Linked DNA regions of Homo sapiens: regions 1, 2, 3, 4, 6 and 7 are each linked to region 5. The links are contacts of gene promoters, found by promoter capture Hi-C in blood cells and fetal thymus (Javierre and others, 2016). All regions are on one chromosome and are shown on one strand. Each heading gives the region's core, a stretch centred on a gene start or on the middle of the fragment in contact. The rest is flanking DNA. Distances are from core to core; before and after follow the strand shown. Region 1 overlaps MTDH (metadherin). Region 2 holds the start of DPY19L4 (dpy-19 like 4). Region 3 overlaps MTDH (metadherin). Region 4 holds the start of RAD54B (RAD54 homolog B). Region 5 holds the start of UQCRB (ubiquinol-cytochrome c reductase binding protein). Region 6 holds the start of RPL30 (ribosomal protein L30). Region 7 holds the start of VIRMA (vir like m6A methyltransferase associated).

Region 1 (2,778 bases), core at 107-2,606, 1.4 Mb after region 5:
AGTGTTAATGAGGTTTGGAGGGTAGGAGACATTTCACTGGAGGGCTTTAGGAAAGTTGTTGGAGGAAATGGGGTTTGAGTTCCAACTAACAAGAGTTTTGTTGGTAACAAACTCTAATCTCTAGATTAGAGATGTGACAGGTCACAGTTAGTGCATTATGAGGCCTGGATAGGCCTTCACGTTTTGCCTGCTGATTAAGAGATGCAAGATACATATGAAACCTGGAAAAGGCACAACTTTGTCAATGTGAATACTACCATAAGTTAGGAGAGGAGAAAATAGAACTGATTTGGAACATAAATAATTTAAAAATTTGTGGAGACTATCAAGAATTACCAATTATCAAAGTAATGTTATGGTGAAAATAGAGAACCTTGCTCCAAGGTAAGGAAAGAAGGTGATCTTGAAAGAAACACATTCAGCACAAACCCATGTGGATGAAGCACATTGTGAAAATTTCAAAGCCCTATTTGGGACATCTAGAAATTTCAGATAAACTTGAGTTGAGAGAGACAGGTTCTCCAAGAACCCATCCGACATGCGTTATAACACTCAAATGACTCATCTGAAAGAATACAGATTCCGGCGAATGCTTATACATTACTGTGAAAAATGCTCAGTAGACTTAAAAGACTTACCCCCTCATTTTCATTCGAGTTAAGGAAGTGGGGAGTAAATAAGTAAACCTAGCGTTAGCTTTGAGGAGTGGAGAATGGGAAGACTGTATGGCTGAATGTTAATTGGGTGAGGAAGTATCCTTATCTACCAAATATTGAAGATGTATTCGAGAAGTTTAACCAACATTTACAAAATTGTGACTTTCAAGCTTTTCTGACTGCAACCCACAATAAGAAATACATTTTACATTACATTACACACATAAAACTGTTCTGTTTTTCTTTAATGTTCATGACCCACTAAATTCATTTCACATTTGACTGTGAGGCATGACCCACAGTTATGGGGTAGCTTTACAGGGCAAAGAAGTACAAGCTGCCGTTTGGTACTCATTAGATACCTTTAACTGTGCTAAGTATTGAAGAAAAGCAAGATACTGCTTACAAATTGAAGGCGGTGAAAAGGCATACAATATGGGCATATCTCTCTGTGACAGGGATACAAAGGTTAAAGCTCAGTTTCTCCCCAGGGAGCTTTTTGTTTCAGTCGTGGAAAAAGATATACTTAAGAAATTAATGATACAACTGGATGTGGACCCAGGTGGGCGTGAAAGGCCTTGTCACAGAAGCTGACTTTGAAAGTGGGTAGGAGTCCCCCAGGAATTCAAGAACGACCTGGGCAATATAGTGAGACCTCATCTCTACAAAAAATTTAAAAAATTAGCCCAGTGTGGTGGTGTGCACCTGTAGTCCCAGCTATTCTGGAGGCTGAGGTTGGAGGATTGCTTGAGCCAGGAGGTGGAGGCTGCAGTGAGCCAATTCGAGGCCCTGTCTAAAAAAAGGGGGGAAGGGAGGGCAGTAAGAGCAAGATAATGTGAGAGGCCTGAGAAACAACAAAGGCCCAGGATTGAAAGAAGACAACTCTGTCAGCCTGGCAGGAATGGGAAACTCTAAACTTGAGTAAGGCATTTCACCTTGCTCTGTTCAGTGTATCTTGTTTACAAATTGGAAATCTTAGTTGAGTTAAAACACTGCAGTATTCTTCAAAGTGTTATCCCTGGCTACTTGCAATGAGTCACTTTGAATGCTTGTGGAAATGCTTGGGCCAGGCACAGTGGCTTATGCCTGTAATCCCAGCACTTTGGGAGGCACTGTTGGGAGGATCACTTGAGCCTAGGAGTTTGACGCTGTGATGAGCTATGATCAGGTGACTGCACTCCAGCCTGGGCAACACAGCAAGACTCTGTCTCCTAAAAGAAAAAAAAAAAAAAAGCTTGTAGATTCCTGATCTCTGATCTTTTCGTTCCATTATTTTTAGCTTTCTCTTAAATCACTCCAAATTTTGCGACTCCTGTTTTCAAATTTTTCATTTGTAGAGTAAATAGTGGCGAAATCTGTATTTACCTCAACCTGTTTATAAGCAATTTCTGAAATTATTTTATCAATTTGTTTTTTATCCCCTAATAAAACCATGCCATAGATCTTTTAGGGTATGAATTACAGTTTGTTCCCTAATTAAAAGTGAGGGGGGCCACTTTTTACTGGGCTCAGTTCTTGGCATTTTTTCTTTTCCCCCCCACCCCTGTTCCTGGCATTTTTGGAAATTATTATCTTGTATGTATTTTTCATGACATCTACCTCAAAGTCTGTATTAAATGGGCACTCAAGTATTTTTTCACTTGATTTTTAATCTGAGTAATGACTTAGATTGAAGTGAAGTCTGCGAAAACTGGTCTGTAACAATTGGCTTTGAATTTCAACTGGAAGCACATAATCAGGATTAATATCAAAGAAAATTGTCTTTTTTTTTTTTTTGAAACAGTCTTGCTCTATTGCCCATGCTGGAGTGCAGTGGCGGTTATAGCTCATAGCTCACTGCATCCTCAAACTCCTGGCCTCAAGCCATCCTCCCACTTTGGCCTCCCAAAATGTTGGGATTACAGGCATGAGCAACCTCACCCAGCTCAAAAATTTATTTTAGTGGACAAGTTATTTGCATATTAGTGTAGGAATGTTTATAAAGATTTGCTATAGTGTAATTGCCATATCTCTAAGCTCAATGAATAAAATAATAGTGTTTCCTTTTGTTTGCTACCAGATAGCCTTGCACAGTGCTTGGTACTCAAAAATAATTATTGAATGCATAATATAGTAAGATGTC
Region 2 (2,725 bases), core at 217-2,716, 1.5 Mb before region 5:
AAAACATCTTTACGGGGAACCAGACATAAAAAGAGTTCCTGGAGGCCCTGCGTGGTAGCTCATGCCTGTAATCCCAGCACTTTGTGGGGCTGAGGCCGGTGGATCACTTGAGGTCAGGATTTCAAGACCAGCCTGGGCAACATGGTGAAACCACACCCCTCCACTTCTCTACTAAAAGTACAAAAAATTATCCGGGCGTGGTGGTGGGCACCTGTAAACCCAGCACTTCGGGGGGCCAAGGTGGGCGGATCACTTGAGGCCAGGAGTTGGAGACTAGCCTGGCCAACCAACATGGTGAAATCCCATCTCTACTAAAAATATGAAAATTAAGTGGTGGCTTGCGCCTGTAGTCCCAGCTACTGGGAAGGCCGAGGCACGAAAATCGCTTTAACCTGGGAGGCGGAGGTTGCAGTGAACCTAGATCGAGTCATTGCATTCCAGCCTGGGCGACAGAGCGAGACTCTGTCTCAAAAAAAAAAAAAAAAAGTTCCTGGAACCGTTTCTGCACATCACTGAAAAATGATAGCCTCTCCCCAAATATCCTAACTTAAAGGTGCTATTAGGAGAATCTTGCTGCCTGCTAATAATGGGGTGTCCATAATTACCCCATGACTTCAGTGAATTCTCGTGCCTGTTTCTCCCGATCTAAAATGGGTATATTTCATTTACTAAATTTACTTCTGAGTACTGTTGGGGAAAAGATCCCGGTGTTTGTTGAAGAATGCTAGATATAATGAAAGTTAAACACAGTTTAACAAATTAAAATTATTCCCTATTGCTCTGTAATATCTAATTGCACACTGCTCTACCCCAGACCATTGTATTATCTCCCCGCCCCCCCCCCCAGAATATCATGAAATGCAACATATTTGCTAAACCAGTTTTGGTGATTTAAAACAAGTTCCAAGCACAAGCTTCTTTCTTGTAATGGTCAAGTGGCCTACGAAACCAAAGCGCCAACTGAGAACGTTTTGCTGCTGCACTCTGAAATCCCAGCGAGAACGCAGGCAGCGATGGCAGTTCTGGAGCACCGGGTTCCACTTCTGCCTCTGACCGGCTTTGTGACTTCCACCACATTAGATCTGAGTTTCCTCCATGTAAAATGGGGCGGGAATGGAGGCTGGACCTGGGAGGTGTCGCTGATGATCGTCTCTGACTCGCTAAGTCGCGGAGTCACAAAAGTGGCGGAAAGCATGCCCTCACTTTTTGGGAAGAGTAGGACGAGGGGCGGGGCTGCAGCGAGACCCACCAGTCTCGCTTTCCAGGGCAGGCGGCGGCCAGGAGCTACAGCTGTGGGCTGCACTCCCGGCGTGGAGTCTCCTTCCTGCCCGCGCAGGCCCCGGCGCCCCAGCGAAACGCTCCGGCCGCTCCCCTCTCCCAACACTCTGGTTCCCGGGCCGCCTGCGGGGACGCGGTTGGCGGCGACACCGGAGGGGGGTGGGTCAGGAAGTGGGGGCGCGGCGGCCAGGAGCGGGCCCCCGGAGGCCGAGGGGTTCGGCGACGCGGAGGGAGGGAGAGTCTGGGCCGCGCGGGAGCCGCAGGGCGCCCTAGCCTTCGCAGAAACGATGGCGGAGGAAGAAGGTGATTGCCGCGGGGTCCAGCGCGCCAACGGCTGCCAGTGGTCTCGGGAAGGAGGGGCGGGGGCGCTGGAGGTCTGGGTTGGAGCTGCTGGTGGCCGCGGTCGCGGTGGCGGCCGCGCGGGCAGGGCGGGAAGGAGCGCGGCGCCCAGGAGAGGACTGCGGAGAAATTCAGGAGAGCGGAGCAAATGGCCCGAAGTTTTGTCGGCCGAATTGGGAAGCAAAGGTGGAGCTGAAAGTTGGGAATCCGTAGCAAGAGAGAAAGCTGTGCCGGGAGTGGTTGGGAAAGAGGGAGGGTCCTGATCAGATTCTTGGTGAAGTGGGAGGCGCAGTTTGGTTTCGAAGATCAGGTTTAGGTACTCAGTGCATATTTGGAATGCGATTTTTAAAGGGCTGTGGATATTGACAAACCCAGAGGCACAGGGGGCGAGGGAACATTCACCACGGGGATAAAGAGGCAGGGATTTGGGATAAACGTGGCAAGATTAATTGGGAATGGGCGAACACGCAGAAACTGAAGAAAGCCAAGTTCACTTAGGTTCAGGGGAAAATGGTAAAGAGCAGAGCCATCTAATTATTATAGTTTTGGGAGATGATGAGGCCAGGAGGCCTTTGAGGGTCAAAGTGGGTGAGCTGGAGAAAGGTTTCCATGCCGCCTTCAGGATCAATGCTAAGATAAGTAATTCATTCAGCAGTATTTTATTTATAGAAAATGATAAGTATGAGACAAAAATGGGAAGTTAGATGAAACTTATCGGTTAGTGATAAACAATACAAGGAATACTCATGGCATAGTAACTTCATGATAACCCCTACTAGTTTCAGGAAGTGAGAAGCAATTAGATTTTTGCATTCTGGTGGAAAACACAACTTTTTACCTTATGAGTGGAGCTGTGGATGTGATAGTAAATCGATCTAATTTAGACTCAAGCCCCCCTGCCTTTTTTTTTTTTGAAACGGAGTTTCGTTCTTGTTGCCCAGTCTAGAGTGCAAAGGCGCGATCTCGGTTCACCGCAACCTCCGCTTCCTGGATTCAAGCGATTCTCCTGCCTCAGCCTCCCTAGTAGCTGGGATTACAGGCATGCGCCATCACGCCCGGTTAATGTTATATTTTGAGTAGAGACGGGGTTTCTCCATGTTGGTCAGGC
Region 3 (2,700 bases), core at 54-2,553, 1.5 Mb after region 5:
TATTTTAATGATAGGGAGATTTTGGTATAGGGTCAGCAGTCTTTTTTTCTTTTTTTTTTTTTTTCGGAGACAGATTCTTGTTGTGCTGCCCAGGCTGGAGTGCAGTGGCATGATCTCAGCTCACTGCAACCTCTACCTCCTGTGTTCAAGCAGTTTTCCTACCTCAGACTCCTGAGTAGCTGGGATTACTAGCCCGACACTATGCCCGGCTAATTTTTGTGTATTTAGTAGAGATGGGATTTCACCATGTTGGCAAAGCTGGTCTCCAACTCCAGACCTCAGGTGATCCGCTCACCTCAGCCCCCCAAAGTGCTGGGATTACAGGCGTAAGCCACCATGCCTGGCCTTTTTTTTTTTTTTTTTTTTTTTTGAGATGGTGTCCTCAAACTCCTGGCCTCAAGTGACCCTCCTGCCTCAGCCTCTCAAAGTGCTGGGATTACATGTGTAAGCCACTGTGTCTGGCCTGCACAGTCTTTATTAAAAAGCCATACATTCTGATACAGCTAGTCAATTATATAGCAAGTAGCCATAGATGATATGGAAATGAATTTTATTTGTAGGAACTAATGCTGGGCTGTATTTGTAATTTGCCAACCCCTGTTTTAGCATGTCTGTCAATACAAAGGGAAAGGATCCGGAATAAACTAAAAAGTTAAACATAGGCTGGGCACAGTGGCATACACCTGGTAGTCCCAGCTATTCAGGGGGCTGAGGCAGGAGGATTGTTTGAACATAGCAAGACCCCATCTCTTAAAAAAGAAAAAAAAAAAGAAAAAGTTAAATGAGAGGGAAGATTTGACTGATAAAGTAAGGTGCCAGAAGAGGATCAAGAAGCCTTTAACAAGTGGATGGATTGGTCTTTTTTTTTTTTCTTTTTCTTTTTGAGATGGAGTTTTGCTCTGTCACTCAGGCTGGAGTTCAGTGATGCAATCTCAGCTCACTGCAATCTCTGCCTCCTGAGTTCAAGCAATTCTCGTGCCTCAGCCTCCCAGTAGCTGGGATTACAGGCACCTGCCACCATGCCCGGCTAATTTTTGTACTTTTACCATGTTGGTTTCACCATGTTGGTCAGGCTGGTTTCGAACTCCTGACCTCAAGTGATCCACCTGCCTCAGCCTCCCAAAGTGCTGGGATTACAGGCATGAGCCACCATGCCAGGCCTTTTTTTTTTTTTTTTTTTTTTTTTTTTTTTTTTTGAGATGGAGTTTCGCCCTGTCTCCCAGACTGGAGTGCAGTGGCACGATCTCAGCTCTCTGCAACCTCCCCCTCCCAGGTTCAAGTGATTCTCCCTCCTCAGCCTCCTGAGTAGCTGGGATTACAGGCACGCATCACCATGCCCAGCTAATTTTTGTATTTTTAGTAGAGACGGGTTTTTGCCATGTTAGCCAGGCTGGTCTCAAACTCCTGAGCTCAAGTGATCCACCCACCTCGGCCTCCCAAAGTGCTGGGATTACAGGCATGAGCCACCATGCCAGGCCTTTTTTTTTTTTTTTTTTTTTTTTTTTTTTTTTTTTTTGAGATGGAGTTTCCCCGTCTCCCAGGCTGGAGTGCAGTGGCATGATCTCGGCTCTCTGCAACCTCCACCTCCCAGGTTCAAGTGATTCTCCCTCCTCAGCCTCCTGAGTAGCTGGGATTACAGGCATGCATCACCATGCCCAGCTAATTTTTGTGTTTTTAGTACAGACGAGTTTTTGCCATGTTAGCCAGGCTGGTCTCAAACTCCTGACCTCAAGTGATCTGCCCACCTTGGCCCCCCAGAGTGCTGGGATTACAGGCGTGAGCCACTGCCCCCAGCCAGGATTGGTCTTTAAAACAGGATATAGGCCGGGCACAGTGGCTCCCACTTTGCGAGGCCAAGGTGGGTAGATCACAAGGTCAGGAGTTCAAGACCAGCCGGGCCAAGATGGTGAAACCCCGTCTCTGCTGAAAATACAAACATTAGCTGGGCATGGTGGCGGGCACCTGTAATCCCATCTACTCATGAGGCTGACTGAGGCAAAGAATTGCTTGAACCCGGGAGGCAGAGGTTACAGTGAGCCAAGGTTGTGCCACTGCACTCCAGCCTGGACAACATAGCGAGACTCCATCTCAAAAAAAAAAAAAAAACCACCAGATATAATACTAATGGTAGAAGGAGGGGTAAATAAATGTAGAGGAGGACAGTTAACAGGCAATGTGAAAGTCAACAGTGGGGAAAGGGGTTTTAGATTGGACCTACAAAAAGGCTTCTTAGAAGTACAATATCGTAATATATAATACCTTAATACATAGTGATCATTCACATGTTTGTTGGACATTTAACACAATAGAACCCATGAATGGAATAAAGACTTTATCCTACATCATAGGAATTCTTTTTCTGAATATATTCAGAGATTACCTTTTACATTTCTAAGCAAAAGTGAGCTGTCATCAAAATGTTCATCAGTTGGGGAATGGAAAGATGTGATATGTTTATACAATGGCATATTAGAAGTTAAAAATGAACTAAAGCTACATTGTTAGCATTATGAATGGAAACTCAACATGCTGAATGATGAGCAAGTTATAAAAAGATAGAATATGTCATTTATGTAACTTTTTATATGTGGATACAAATAAATTTATAGAAAAATTGATTGGATAGACACAGAAGTTGTTCACAATTTTGGTTACCATTAGGAAGGTACTGTGAAAATGGGATTGGGAAGCGGTATAAAG
Region 4 (2,839 bases), core at 292-2,791, 1.8 Mb before region 5:
AATTAGTATTATCGGAGAGTAGAAATGATGAAGGTCCTGTGAAGGAGATAGAGAAGGGGTAGTTCAACATACAGGACAATGACCAGAATCTTTGGGTTCGTCTGGGCTTTAAAGAGAGGTATGTGCAACCATCAAACGTCGAGGATGCAAGAATGTAAGTACACCAACTCTACCAAGAACCAGCAACGGTCTCTCCCTGCTGTTGCTGCTTGTCGACTTCCAACTACATTAGGTAGTAATTATTTCACTTCATGCCTTAAATTGCTCCTTTGAGACTCCGGCTATATAGATGGTTCCTAATTTAGGACGGTGTCACTTAGAATTCTTCGACTTTTAAGAAAGCCATGAGCATTCAGTAGAAACTGTACAAGTAACCACACAACCGTCTGTGTTCATGATTTTGCCCAACTGTAGATTAAGGTAAGTGTTCTGAGCATGTTTAAGGTAGGCTAGCGCAGCCATAAAAAGGAATGAAATCATGTCCTTTGCAGCAACATGGGTGCAGCTGGAGGCTATTATCCAAAGCGAATTAAAGCAGAAACAGAAAATCAAATATTGCATGTTCTCACTTATAAATGGGAGCTAAACATTGGGCATTCATGAACATAAAGATGGCAACAATAGACAGTGGAGACAACTAGAAGGGAGAGGAAAGGAGGAGCAAGGGTTCAAAAACTATTGGGTAACATGCTCACTACCTGGGTGACAGGATCAATCGTATCCAAACCTCAGCACCACGTAATATACCGATGCAACAAACCTGCACATGTACCCCCAAATCTAAAATAAACAGCTGAAAATAATTTTTTTGATAACAAAAGTAGGCTAGGCCAAGCTTTAATACTCAGTAGGTTAGCTGTGTTTTAAATCCATTTTCCATTTGGGATATTTTCAACCCCGTAGTAAGTCGAGAAGCATCTGTTCCTACCTAGAAAATCTTCCATAAGGTAATCGATTAAAAGGTTTTAAGGAAATACAAGAAAAACCTGACCAGTGAAGAGGTAAAAGCCCCTAAAGAAGGCGTACCGACACTCTCCAGGACGCTCGCAGAGCCTTCACCCCCTGGCCCTGGGGAAGGAAATTCCCAGTGCAGGAGTGAGGGAGAGACCCAAAAGCCAAGAGGAGCCTGCGCAAAGCGACCGCAGTGGCGGCCCCAGGGGCCACTGCCCAGAACCATCCCTCCCACACAAACGCACAACCCTAAACCCCCACCGCCCGCCCTTCGCTCCAAGGCCCCCGGGGCCAGCAACCAGGGCGTCCCTGGCACTTCAGACCAAAGCTGCAGGCCCGCAGAAGGCCACTTCGGTCGCTCCTGCCGCCTTCCCTCCCTCCTCCCTCGTTGGCCTGCTCCGGCGCCACTCCCTGCTTTGTCCCGCACGAGCCTACAGGCTGTCGCAGCCTCCCGAGCTTCCCCCTGCAGGACGCACCGGCGAAAATCTGACAGAAACCACTGGCCCTGCAAAGAAGTCCTTCTGGTAACCAGCTATCCCCTCGCCGCCGGAGAAGCTCAAGGATCCCGCCTCGGCGAAGCCAATCGCGGACGAGCCCGCCGCGCGTGCGCACTACCTAGCCGCTGCACTGCCCTGTCCTGCCCTACTCTGATTGGACGACCCTACTGCATCACTGCGCATGTATCTTTGCGTTTGGCTTTAAATGCTTCCAAGTTTGATTCAAGTTTACGGTTCAATTAAAAAAATACTGGTTTAGTGCCTACTTTCAGACACAGTGTAGATGCCGAGGCTACAGACCTCACCATCTGCGTGGATAAGTAATAAATACGGTATGATTCGGTGTGTGCGATAATAGAAATGCGTGCATCGCAGAAGTATACGATATCCTATTGGTTATTCATTCATCCGAAAAAACATTGACTTAGCGGTGCCTGCAGGATAATTTTCAAACTCTTTGTTAGGTTCTGGGAATATAGAAACGAATACGTGATTATTAGGCTCTCAGAAAAGGGGAGCCGCCTCCGGACTTGGAAAAGCATTAAAGCATGTTAAGTAGGAAAGTTACATCATTCAATGAGTATTTACTGAGCACCTTCTAAGTGCTAGGCGGTAACACAGTCAACTATCCCTGAAAAATGGTATTAGAAAGGCTAATCTGAAAGGAGAGAGAATGGCTAAAGGTTGTTTATTGAGTTTTATCCAGCAGTTTGACAAAAAGTAAAAGCTAAAAAATATCAAGGGTGAAATGAAGATGTGAAACAATGGGAACTCTTGGGCTGCTGGTAGGAGTGTAAATAGGTACAGCCATTTAAAAGAGTAATTTGAGGCTGAGAGCGGTGGCTTGTGCCTGTAATCCCAGTACTTTGGGAGGCCGAGGCGGGCGGATCACTTGAGGTCAGGAGTTCGAGACCAGCCTGGCCAACATGGTGAAACCCGGTCTGTACTAAAAATACAAAAATTAGCTGGTTTTGGTGGAGCGCGCCTGTAATCCCAGCTACTCAGCAGACTAAGGCGGGAGAATCGCTTGAACCTGGGAGGTGAAGGCTGCAATGAACCGAGATGGTGCCGCAGCACTCCAGCCTGGGCAGCAGAGAGACCCTGTTTCAAAAAAAAAGAGTAATGTGCTTAAGGAGCTTTTATCCTGGGGACTTTTTCCAGTCATAAAGAGCACCTCATAGGTTGAGTTGTGCTTTTGGCAGCTCCTGGAGCCAGCGTTACAAGAATTTGAAATGGGGACCTGCCAAGGTTGGGCACCTTAGTAAACCGCACCCCCCTCTTCTTTGGACTGGGACACATAAAGAGTAAGGGTAACCAGAAAACAAGCTAGCTTCATAGTGTCTGCAGCCTACCTTAATATCATCTGGGGAGTTCAGAAAATCTAAAACAGA
Region 5 (2,700 bases), core at 10-2,509:
TATATTCAACCACCTATCAGTGACTATAATAATATTCACTAAGCACTTATTGTGCACCAAACACTTTCCTATTTGCTTTACCAACATTAGCTGATTTATTTACATGTCTGTTACTACAGAAGGGGAAGCTGGCTTACAGAAGTGATCCCACCCAAGGTCAGAGTTAGCTAATGGGAGTTGAGATCTGGTCTATGTAGTTCCCAAACACGCACAGAAGCAGTGTCTTGAATTTAGTAAGACTCCTTCAATATCTGCCAAATTAATAAAATAATTATTTAAAAAGTCTCCCCCACCCCCAAAAAGCTCAATGTCAATTAGGTTAACGGATGTTTCTGGCAACCTGATGTTTCCTAACAGCTTCACAATTGCTGGGGGCGGGGAGAAAAGGATCAACATTTTTTAAGCTACTCCAACTTGGTTGCATTGCAGTGAGACGAGATTGTGCCATTGCACTCCAGCCTGGGCGACAAAGCAAGACTCCGTCTCAAAGACAAAACAAACAAACAAACAAAACGGCTACTCCAACTTGTACCGCCAGAGGGCAGAGATTAGCAAAAAAAAAAAAAAAGAAAGAAAAAAGAAAAAAAGAACCTACAATAAATTCAAATTTCTCCAAACCTACTGATCAAGCTGACGCTCTAGATAATCCAAGGTCAACCTGAAGCGTCGCTCGTATCCCTTGCTCAACTGTCTCTGATTCGCAGTTTGAGAAGCGCGAGGGGTGCAATGATATTTCCAATTCTACTTCCTTGGGTCACTTTGCCTCAGTTATCTTATCAGCGTAAAAGGGAAATTAATATCTCCCTCGTCGCAATGGCAAGAAAATTTATAGGGCCAATGCACACGATAGAGCACTTGGGTCATAGAAAGCACTGAGCTCATTCGGGTTGAAAGTCATCCACTAGTTATCCTCTTGTGCCCTTTAACTTTTCTAAGGCCAAGGGGAAGGACTTCCAAGCACGGGCAGCTGGAACTCCAGGGCTGTCAGAGCCACCGCGGGCACCTTCACAAACAGCGGGTTAACATCCCAACCCTATACAGGCAAGCCCGCCCTGGGGACAGCAAACGAGTGGGGAAGCACATCCTTTTCACTGGACTGAAGCAGCCAATTTCCCTTCCGCGACAAACTTGGCCACTTACAAAGAAGAGAGAAAACGGAGCAAGCTGCAGCAAAAATAAACGGTGAAGCGCGACGATGCCGGCCAAGAAGACCCCCAGTTACTTACCGGCCTGCTTACCAGCCATTTTGACCAGAAAGAGAAGCGTTGCCTTCTGGGTAAGTCATAGAGGACAAGCTGGGCCCAGTCCGCAGGCGCGTTACGTCACATCGCGAACAGAGAAAGGCCGCTTGCGCAGGCGCAGTTCTGACGACTGCCGTTCAGCACCTGCGTAAGCACCTCTCGGCCAGGGTGAGGCCAATGGAGTAGGCGGGGCATTTTGCGTGCTACATTCTAAGAAGTATTGGTTGTGATGTGATGGGAAGAACACAGGTCAGGAATTAGGAGACCAAGGCTTAAAGCTGGGTTCTGTTATTTGCTGTTAATAGCTATGGGAGCGTGGACAGTATTAATTCAGCTCTTTGTGCCAGGCAGGAAGCTAAATGTTTTAAGGGCATCGTCTTACTTTCTATTGAAGGACTGATGGATGTGCCATCCCAAAAATATATGGAATTGGTACATTGATTATTTCGAGTTGAAAATATTGGAGAAATTGTAGTTTCAGAAAAGGTTTGATGACCTATCTCTTCCTGCATGCAGCAAGCCATAAAGCTTCCTCCAGGATTCCTCTGGAGTACCCGTCCCTTACCAGAGGGAGAAAATAGCACCTATCACCAGAGACGAAACTGGGGGCTGCTTTGGACCTGAATATACTTTCCGAAGTAACCGTTATCTTCCACTAAGTTTACACCCCAACACACACACTTTTCTCCTAATGACTCCGCGAGAAATTTACTGCCCCTAGCCAGATCCCCTTTCTTCTGATTTGTAGTTCGTGTAAAAAGTATAAAGGCATCTTACATTGGCCACTTCACTCTTTTGTGCGGATCCCCATGTACATGTAAAACTAGTAAAATTAGTATGCTTTTCTCTTGTTAATCTGCCATGTGTCAATTTGGTTCCTAGATTCAACCAAAGAGCCCACATAAGAGCAAAGGGGAGGGAGGGTTGGAGGTGATCTCTCACTCCCCTAAACTATCTTTTAATTCTAAAAGTACTGTAATTATCTCATTGTAGAGAGGAGAAAGCTGAGGCTCAGAAAGGTTGAATAACTTGTCCAAGAGCACATGACTAGAAGAGTCCAGGTTCTTCTTCCAGAATCTGAAAATCCAGATGCAAATTTGGGGCTCCTTAATTCTAGGGTCATATGCTATACTGCTACACTACTAATCCAGGAAAGACACCAAGCCTTTCAGGCCTTGGGTTTCTCCAGCTGAAGATCTATATCTAGCTATTTTAGTGGAAGGTTAGGTCAGAAAAGGTTTTGGGTTTTTTTTGTTTGTTTTTTTTCACCCTTTTTTTTGTTGTTCAGCCTCTGTCACCCAGGCTGAATGGCACAATCTCGGCTCACTGCAACCTCTGCCTCCTGGGTTCAAATGACTCGTGCCTCAGCCTCCTGAGTAGCTGGGACTACAGGTGTACACACTACCATGCCCGCTAATTTTTGTATTTTTAGTAGAGACGGGGTTTCACCGTGTTGGCC
Region 6 (2,700 bases), core at 182-2,681, 1.8 Mb after region 5:
AAAAATAAAATAATAAATGGCACCTCGGGCCCCATCCCAGATCCAATGAAATCAGAACTTGCATTTTAACATCACCCATGTGACTCCTTTGCACAGTCATGTTTCAGAAGCACTACTATAGAAGACAGGCTTTAAAGAAAGTTTCAAAGAATGGTTAGGGAAAAGCCGAACCCATGGGACAAGACAGAAAGGGCCCTCCAGGCTTTGACGGTAACTACAGACACCCTATATAAAATGCTGTAAGCAGCTTATGCATCACCACAGAAAATTTGCTCACATAGCTTATACTCTGCAAGGTCCAAGTTTGTTTGGCTTATTTACAACACCCCCTAAGTTCAATTTCAAAACAGTGAGTCAAGCATAAATCTTGACTCAGAACTGATTTAGCGGGCTAAACTAGGTGATTCTATGATAGCCTGCAACTCCATAGCCCAGCCTCAACTTTTCTTACCTAGTTTTTTGACACTAAAACAAGTTCACACAATGAAGCATCATTAAAGCACCTCAAAGCTAAAAGAACCAAAAAAGCAGGACACAAAATACATGGAAAAAACAGTAATGTGTCTGTGTTTCCATTAAACCTCGATGTTCTGTTTTCACTCCTGCCACACACACACATTTCTCCTCCAAAAATAAGCTCACAGAAGGGGAGCACACGATTTGGGGGTGGGTCGGGGAGACGGGAATGAAGGGCCAAACACCACAATCGCTACCGTAATTATCCTGCAAGTGTTCGAGTTCATGGTACTCAGATTACAAGTTTACACTCCTGTATATTCGTTCACGATGAATTCGCGGTAGGCGAAGCCCGTTCAGTCTCTTCGATTACCTCAAAGCTGGGCAGTTGTTAGCGAGAATGACCAATTTCGCTTTGCCTTGTCTGATCATCTTCAGAGTCTGCTTGTACCCCAGGACGTACTTCCCACTTTTCATAACGAGTTGGAGCCTAGAGTTGATCGACTCCAGCGACTTTTTCTACAAAGCAAACATTAAATACGGACCTAAGGGCCTCGCCTGCAACCGCCTCAAAACCGGACCCAGCTTTTTGAAGCCGAGCCCCTTAAACTTCCGAAGTCGAGGACCCCAAGTCATTGAGAGGGCCACTGGGATTCCTTCTGGGGCCCTCCAAATGCCAGCAGGCATGCTGTCACCCCCGTGGGCTCACATCTGCCCGCCCTGGCCAAGACATCTCTCCACGTGAATCGTCTTCCGGGCCTGGCCCGCCTCACTCACCGTCTTCTTTGCGGCCACCATCTTCCTGCCTTAGGAGCGGGACGGCCCCCAACCTAGAAGAGACAGAGAACAGGACAGGAATTTTAGGATCCGGAGTTACAAATGGCAACCCGCAAAGCTCCCCGCGCTGCCTAAACCTCGGTCGGTAGGAGCCCACTCACCAACAGCAGCCGCTAAGATGGCCGGGGAACGAGAAAGGAAAGACTTCCCACAATGCAAAGCTCTTCACGGCAGAGCCGGAACTGCGGGACCGGAAGCGGAAACAGATCGCAAGCAGAAGGGGCGGAGCAAAAGCGGAGGGCAGCTGCCGGTTGCTATTGGTACCGCTAGCTAGAATGGCTGCGGGGGCCGTACGCGGCTGCTCATACCTTTAATCCCAGCACTTTCGGAGGTTGAGGCGGGAAGATCTGTTGCGTCCAGCTCAAGGCCAGCCTGGACAACATAGACCACCCCTGTCTCTACAAAAAAATAAAAAAGAAATAAAAAAGAAATTAGCCGGGCGTGGTGGCGCGCTCCAGTAGTCCTAGCTACTCCCAGCTACGCCGGAGGCTGAGGCGGAGAGGTCGCTTGAGCTCGGTAGGTCGAGGCTGCAGTGAGCCATGATCGCGCCACTGCACTCAGCCTGGGCGACAGAGTGAGACTCTGTCTCAAAGAAGGAAAAAAAAGAATGACGGCGGGGGTGTTCTTTTCCCCCTCTGCGGGCCTTTAAGCTTCGCGGCGTTGTGTTGCTGTTCTGCTGCGAGCTGCGGTCTAACTAATCGAGGCGCTTAGAACCCGGAGGGAGTTCGAAAAGCCGACTGAAGGTGAGGTGGGAGGGTAGATGAGAAGAGGCTGCGGCGGCTGCGACCACGGTCTCAATGCCGCTGAATTCATCTTTGTCCTGAGGCGCGGCTCTTGGAGAGCCTTGTGGGTGACTCCGATGCGCCGCAGCACCCGCATTTACTCTCCGCTTGGTAGAAGCAGCTGTGTCCTCACCCCTGCGGTCACCCAAGTTACCTGTCCCCTGGAGAACGGTGGCGCCCTGCTCGAGTTTCCCAAAACTCGCCTTTTGTGACTGTGTTAGCGTGAACTTGTGAGCCGAGTTTGCACTGAGAGCGCGATAAACAGGTCTAATTTTTTAAAAGTATTTTTGCTGTTAACGTTGGATCTTGGTATAAATGTCCAGAGACAGACCACTGAAGATATTAGGCGCTGAAAATCCCCACCTAATCAATCAGACCAGTGGATAAGCTATATGAGGGAAACCTCTTCCCCTCCTTAATTAAGCCTCACCAAAAAACGCGTGCTGTACCAGGAATCATTTACATATATTTATTTAATACTCACAAAAGTCCCATGAGATAGTAACCTTTTTATTGTCCATTTTACATATCTAGGCCTATTGTCAGAGCTAGGACCAGAGCCCAGGTAACTTAGGTCTCTTCACAATTAAAGTTGATTCAGGCCGAATGCGGTGACTCACGCCTG
Region 7 (2,700 bases), core at 141-2,640, 1.7 Mb before region 5:
CTGCCTCCATTGAGGGTTTTCTAAATCTCGGCTAGAATGTTAGATATAGTCATTGAACAAACAGTGCTAACTGACCCACATTAAATGTCAGACCATAAATTAACTGTCAGTAAGAAATGCTAACTCAAAGTTCTCCAACTTTTGACTTTTACAAACCTATAAACCATTCGTTAAATTAGATCACAGCTGTCAACTTTTTATTTTGCCAAGTAAAGCATTATGATACAATCACTACCCACTATCATTACTATCTCATAAAAGAAAGAACATTTTAAACATTTTCCATTCAAATATTTATTGAGCACCTACATTTTGCTAATACTGTCCTAGGCACTGGAGATACAGCTGAGAAAAAGAGAAATTATATCTGTCCTCAAAAAGCTTGATACAAGAGCACACTTGATAAAAATAAAAGGAAAAAAATAATCTCCAAAGAAAGAACAGTTCTCTAAATTAAGCTTACATTAAGACAGAAAAATGTGAAGTTCGTTTTTTTTTTTAACAATTTCTCCGTAGACTTCATTCAAGTTCATTTTTGGTCTGCTTTCAGGAATCTTTAGTTAACCAGCTATGTTTAATCTACATATTGCAGGGCCAATTGTACATTAAGGGGCGCTCAAGTAGTTTTGTACAGAAATATTACTCCACAACATTCCACCTCCAACCTCAAAGGAGATGTCTGCTGATGAGTTTAACTATAATTCTCTCAACTCTCCCCTCTTCGCAAGTATTCTCCGTGAATGCATCTCATTCCTAATGTGTGAAATCTCTCCGAGAGACAAGTATTAAAGTTTCAGGCCAAATCGGAGAGCACCGTAATCCTAAACCAAGTAAGTGTCACAACTGGGGAACATAATTCCCGACAGAAAAGAGGCCAAAGAGAAAGGATTTAGAAACATCGTGATTCGGAAACCACGAAGCCAACGTAAACTGCTCAGACTCCGGCACTACTGTCAAACACTACTGGCAAACCAAGACCCCTCCCAAACGCCATCTGAGGTAAACCTGAGAACCCTGATCCTTCTCAAGGCCCAAACCTGACAGGAAAAATAAAAAATAAAGCCATGCAAGCAGAAAAGCCAACTCGACCAAAGACACGGAGGGCCCAAGTTAAAGCAAGGAAATGAAGGGGCTGCTGCAGCCCTCCCTCAGACGCGATGCTCACACAGCTCGGGGGAGGGTGTCTGTGTGTAAGCGAGAAATTAAAGAAGCAATCTGCAGAAGGAAAAGTGGAGAACGCCTAACGGTTTTTTTGTAAAGATCCCAAGTCAAGAAGCAGCGTCAGAATCAAGTCGCCAAGCCTTACCTCAGCGCTCGGGTGTTTAAAAGTATCTAAAAATAACAGCTCCATCGCCGAGTCCACCGCCATGTTTGCCGCGGGCGGGGAACAGGGGGGAGGACTTCCGGGGCAGCGCTCCAGCCTCCGCGACAGCGACTCAGGAGAGGGAGAAACAGAGGGACTTCCGGTGACCAGAGCACTAGCGCCGCAAACCTCGGCCTATCCCAACGCATCTTGTTGCCCGGAGTTGCCGGCCCCGCCTTTTCCAGCGCGGCGGAGGGCGCCCCCTAGAACGCAGAGGGGGGGCAGAGGGAAGTGAGATGGGGACTACGGGGTCTCCAGTGGTTCAAACCCTGTCGTTCCTCCGCGTTACAGAGCTACAGCGGTCTCCGGGTGGCGAAGTGCGGAGACGGGGTTTTGGAGACGGTGGATGGAGGAGGGGGAGGGAAAGCTGCCAACTTTGGATACCAACCCCGTACACCCACCGAAGGGGATGTCCCACTTTTTCCAGCGCTGGGAGCAAAAAGATAACAGTGAGCGAGGTTGAAAAGTAAGACATTGATTTAAATAGAAGAAAAACTGTTGTTTCAACCAACGAAGAGATTCTTTGTTTTCTTATCTGTAAAATGTGAAAAATCGTACCTAACCTACAGGGTGATTGTGAGGAGTAATTGAAATAAAATTCGAGGAATTGTGTAACGTGAAGTACCATGAACAATAAAACAGGAGGCAGAATGAAAAGTAAGCCTCTCTGTCGGGTGTTGATGAGCTTTGGAGCAACGAGATAAACTCAGCGGGTTTGGTAGTCTAAATGGCACAAACCCTTAGCAGAGCAACTAGGAAATAGCTTGTAAAATTACACGTGCCTACCACTCTTCTAGGAAAATTCTCGCCCACGTATCTACAAATACAAGAATATTCATAGCAAACTTTATAAGTTGCAAAAGAGCAGGAAACATAAGTGCCATTGACAGAAGTAATAAGTAAATAGTGGCGTATTTATATAATAGTATATAGCAGGTACGAAGAATGAACCAGTGCTATGTTTACTAGCATGAAAAACCCAAAAAACAGGGTTGGTGGGCGCTTTGGCTCACGCCTGTAATCCAGCACTTAGGGAGGATGAAGCGGGAGGATCGCTTGAGCCCAGGAGTTGGAGAACTGCCTGGGCAATATAGCGAGACCCCGTTATTCACAAAAAGAAAAAAAAAAGACACAAACCAAAACAAAACAAGTTTAACTCCTCTCATCGCAAGCCGGGTGCGGTGGCGTGTTCCTGTGGTCCCAACTTCTCGGGAAGCTGAGACAGGAGAATCTCTTAAGCCCAGGAGTTGGAGGCCAGTGGGGACACCCATCTCTTAGAAAAGGAAATAAAAAATATATAGTGTAAAATAACATCTATATATTTAAAAACGTGCAAA

The links. The method cuts DNA at HindIII sites, captures the fragments that hold promoters and counts their contacts. A CHiCAGO score of 5 or more calls a contact.
Region 1: a fragment that was not itself captured here is called in contact with the fragment with the promoter of UQCRB in region 5 in 1 of 17 cell types (total CD8 T cells); the score reaches 6.1 in total CD8 T cells.
Region 2: a contact is called between the fragment with the promoter of DPY19L4 here and the fragment with the promoter of UQCRB in region 5, in 2 of 17 cell types (total B cells and fetal thymus). The highest score is 6.1, in total B cells.
Region 3: a fragment that was not itself captured here is called in contact with the fragment with the promoter of UQCRB in region 5 in 1 of 17 cell types (M0 macrophages); the score reaches 6.2 in M0 macrophages.
Region 4: the fragment with the promoter of RAD54B here is called in contact with the fragment with the promoter of UQCRB in region 5 in 7 of 17 cell types (naive B cells, fetal thymus, total B cells and 4 more); the score reaches 11.2 in naive B cells.
Region 6: a contact is called between the fragment with the promoter of RPL30 here and the fragment with the promoter of UQCRB in region 5, in 2 of 17 cell types (naive B cells and total B cells). The highest score is 7.8, in naive B cells.
Region 7: the fragment with the promoter of VIRMA here is called in contact with the fragment with the promoter of UQCRB in region 5 in 7 of 17 cell types (fetal thymus, naive B cells, total CD8 T cells and 4 more); the score reaches 12.9 in fetal thymus.

The regions. Positions count from the first base shown.
Region 1 is chr8:97,646,077-97,648,854 of GRCh38, forward strand. The region is part of intron 1 of MTDH (metadherin); the gene reads left to right. Among named protein-coding and RNA genes, the nearest start is that of MTDH, 3.3 kb to the left of the region's middle. The HindIII fragment of the contact is 1,064 bases long and covers 825-1,888 here.
Region 2 is chr8:94,718,434-94,721,158 of GRCh38, forward strand. It overlaps DPY19L4 (dpy-19 like 4), which reads left to right and starts at 1,467. Exons shown (of 19, transcript NM_181787.3): 1 at 1,467-1,581. The coding sequence starts at 1,566. RefSeq lists an enhancer at 560-1,514 and a silencer at 1,275-1,594. The HindIII fragment of the contact is 11,065 bases long and covers 913-2,725 here.
Region 3 is chr8:97,707,104-97,709,803 of GRCh38, forward strand. All of the region lies in intron 8 of MTDH (metadherin), which reads left to right. Among named protein-coding and RNA genes, the nearest start is that of MTDH, 64 kb to the left of the region's middle. The HindIII fragment of the contact is 8,340 bases long and covers 1-2,700 here.
Region 4 is chr8:94,473,574-94,476,412 of GRCh38, forward strand. It overlaps RAD54B (RAD54 homolog B), which reads right to left and starts at 1,542. Exons shown (of 15, transcript NM_012415.3): 1 at 1,428-1,542. RefSeq lists an enhancer at 1,275-1,504. The HindIII fragment of the contact is 4,488 bases long and covers 834-2,839 here.
Region 5 is chr8:96,234,286-96,236,985 of GRCh38, forward strand. UQCRB (ubiquinol-cytochrome c reductase binding protein) reads right to left here and starts at 1,260. Exons shown (of 4, transcript NM_006294.5): 1 at 1,227-1,260. The coding sequence starts at 1,245. It overlaps UQCRB-AS1 (UQCRB antisense RNA 1), which reads left to right and starts at 1,008. Exons shown (of 2, transcript NR_183275.1): 1 at 1,008-1,276. RefSeq lists an enhancer at 987-1,266. The HindIII fragment of the contact is 3,599 bases long and covers 1-1,767 here.
Region 6 is chr8:98,044,114-98,046,813 of GRCh38, forward strand. RPL30 (ribosomal protein L30) reads right to left here and starts at 1,432. Exons shown (of 5, transcript NM_000989.4): 1 at 1,395-1,432; 2 at 1,234-1,286; 3 at 830-975. The coding sequence starts at 1,254. RefSeq lists enhancers at 1,364-1,513, 1,580-2,516, 1,684-1,743, 1,764-1,813. The HindIII fragment of the contact is 12,210 bases long and covers 1-1,941 here.
Region 7 is chr8:94,552,079-94,554,778 of GRCh38, forward strand. VIRMA (vir like m6A methyltransferase associated) reads right to left here and starts at 1,391. Exons shown (of 24, transcript NM_015496.5): 1 at 1,307-1,391. The coding sequence starts at 1,369. It overlaps VIRMA-DT (VIRMA divergent transcript), which reads left to right and starts at 1,635. Exons shown (of 2, transcript NR_183271.1): 1 at 1,635-1,829. RefSeq lists an enhancer at 1,085-1,704. The HindIII fragment of the contact is 4,366 bases long and covers 457-2,700 here.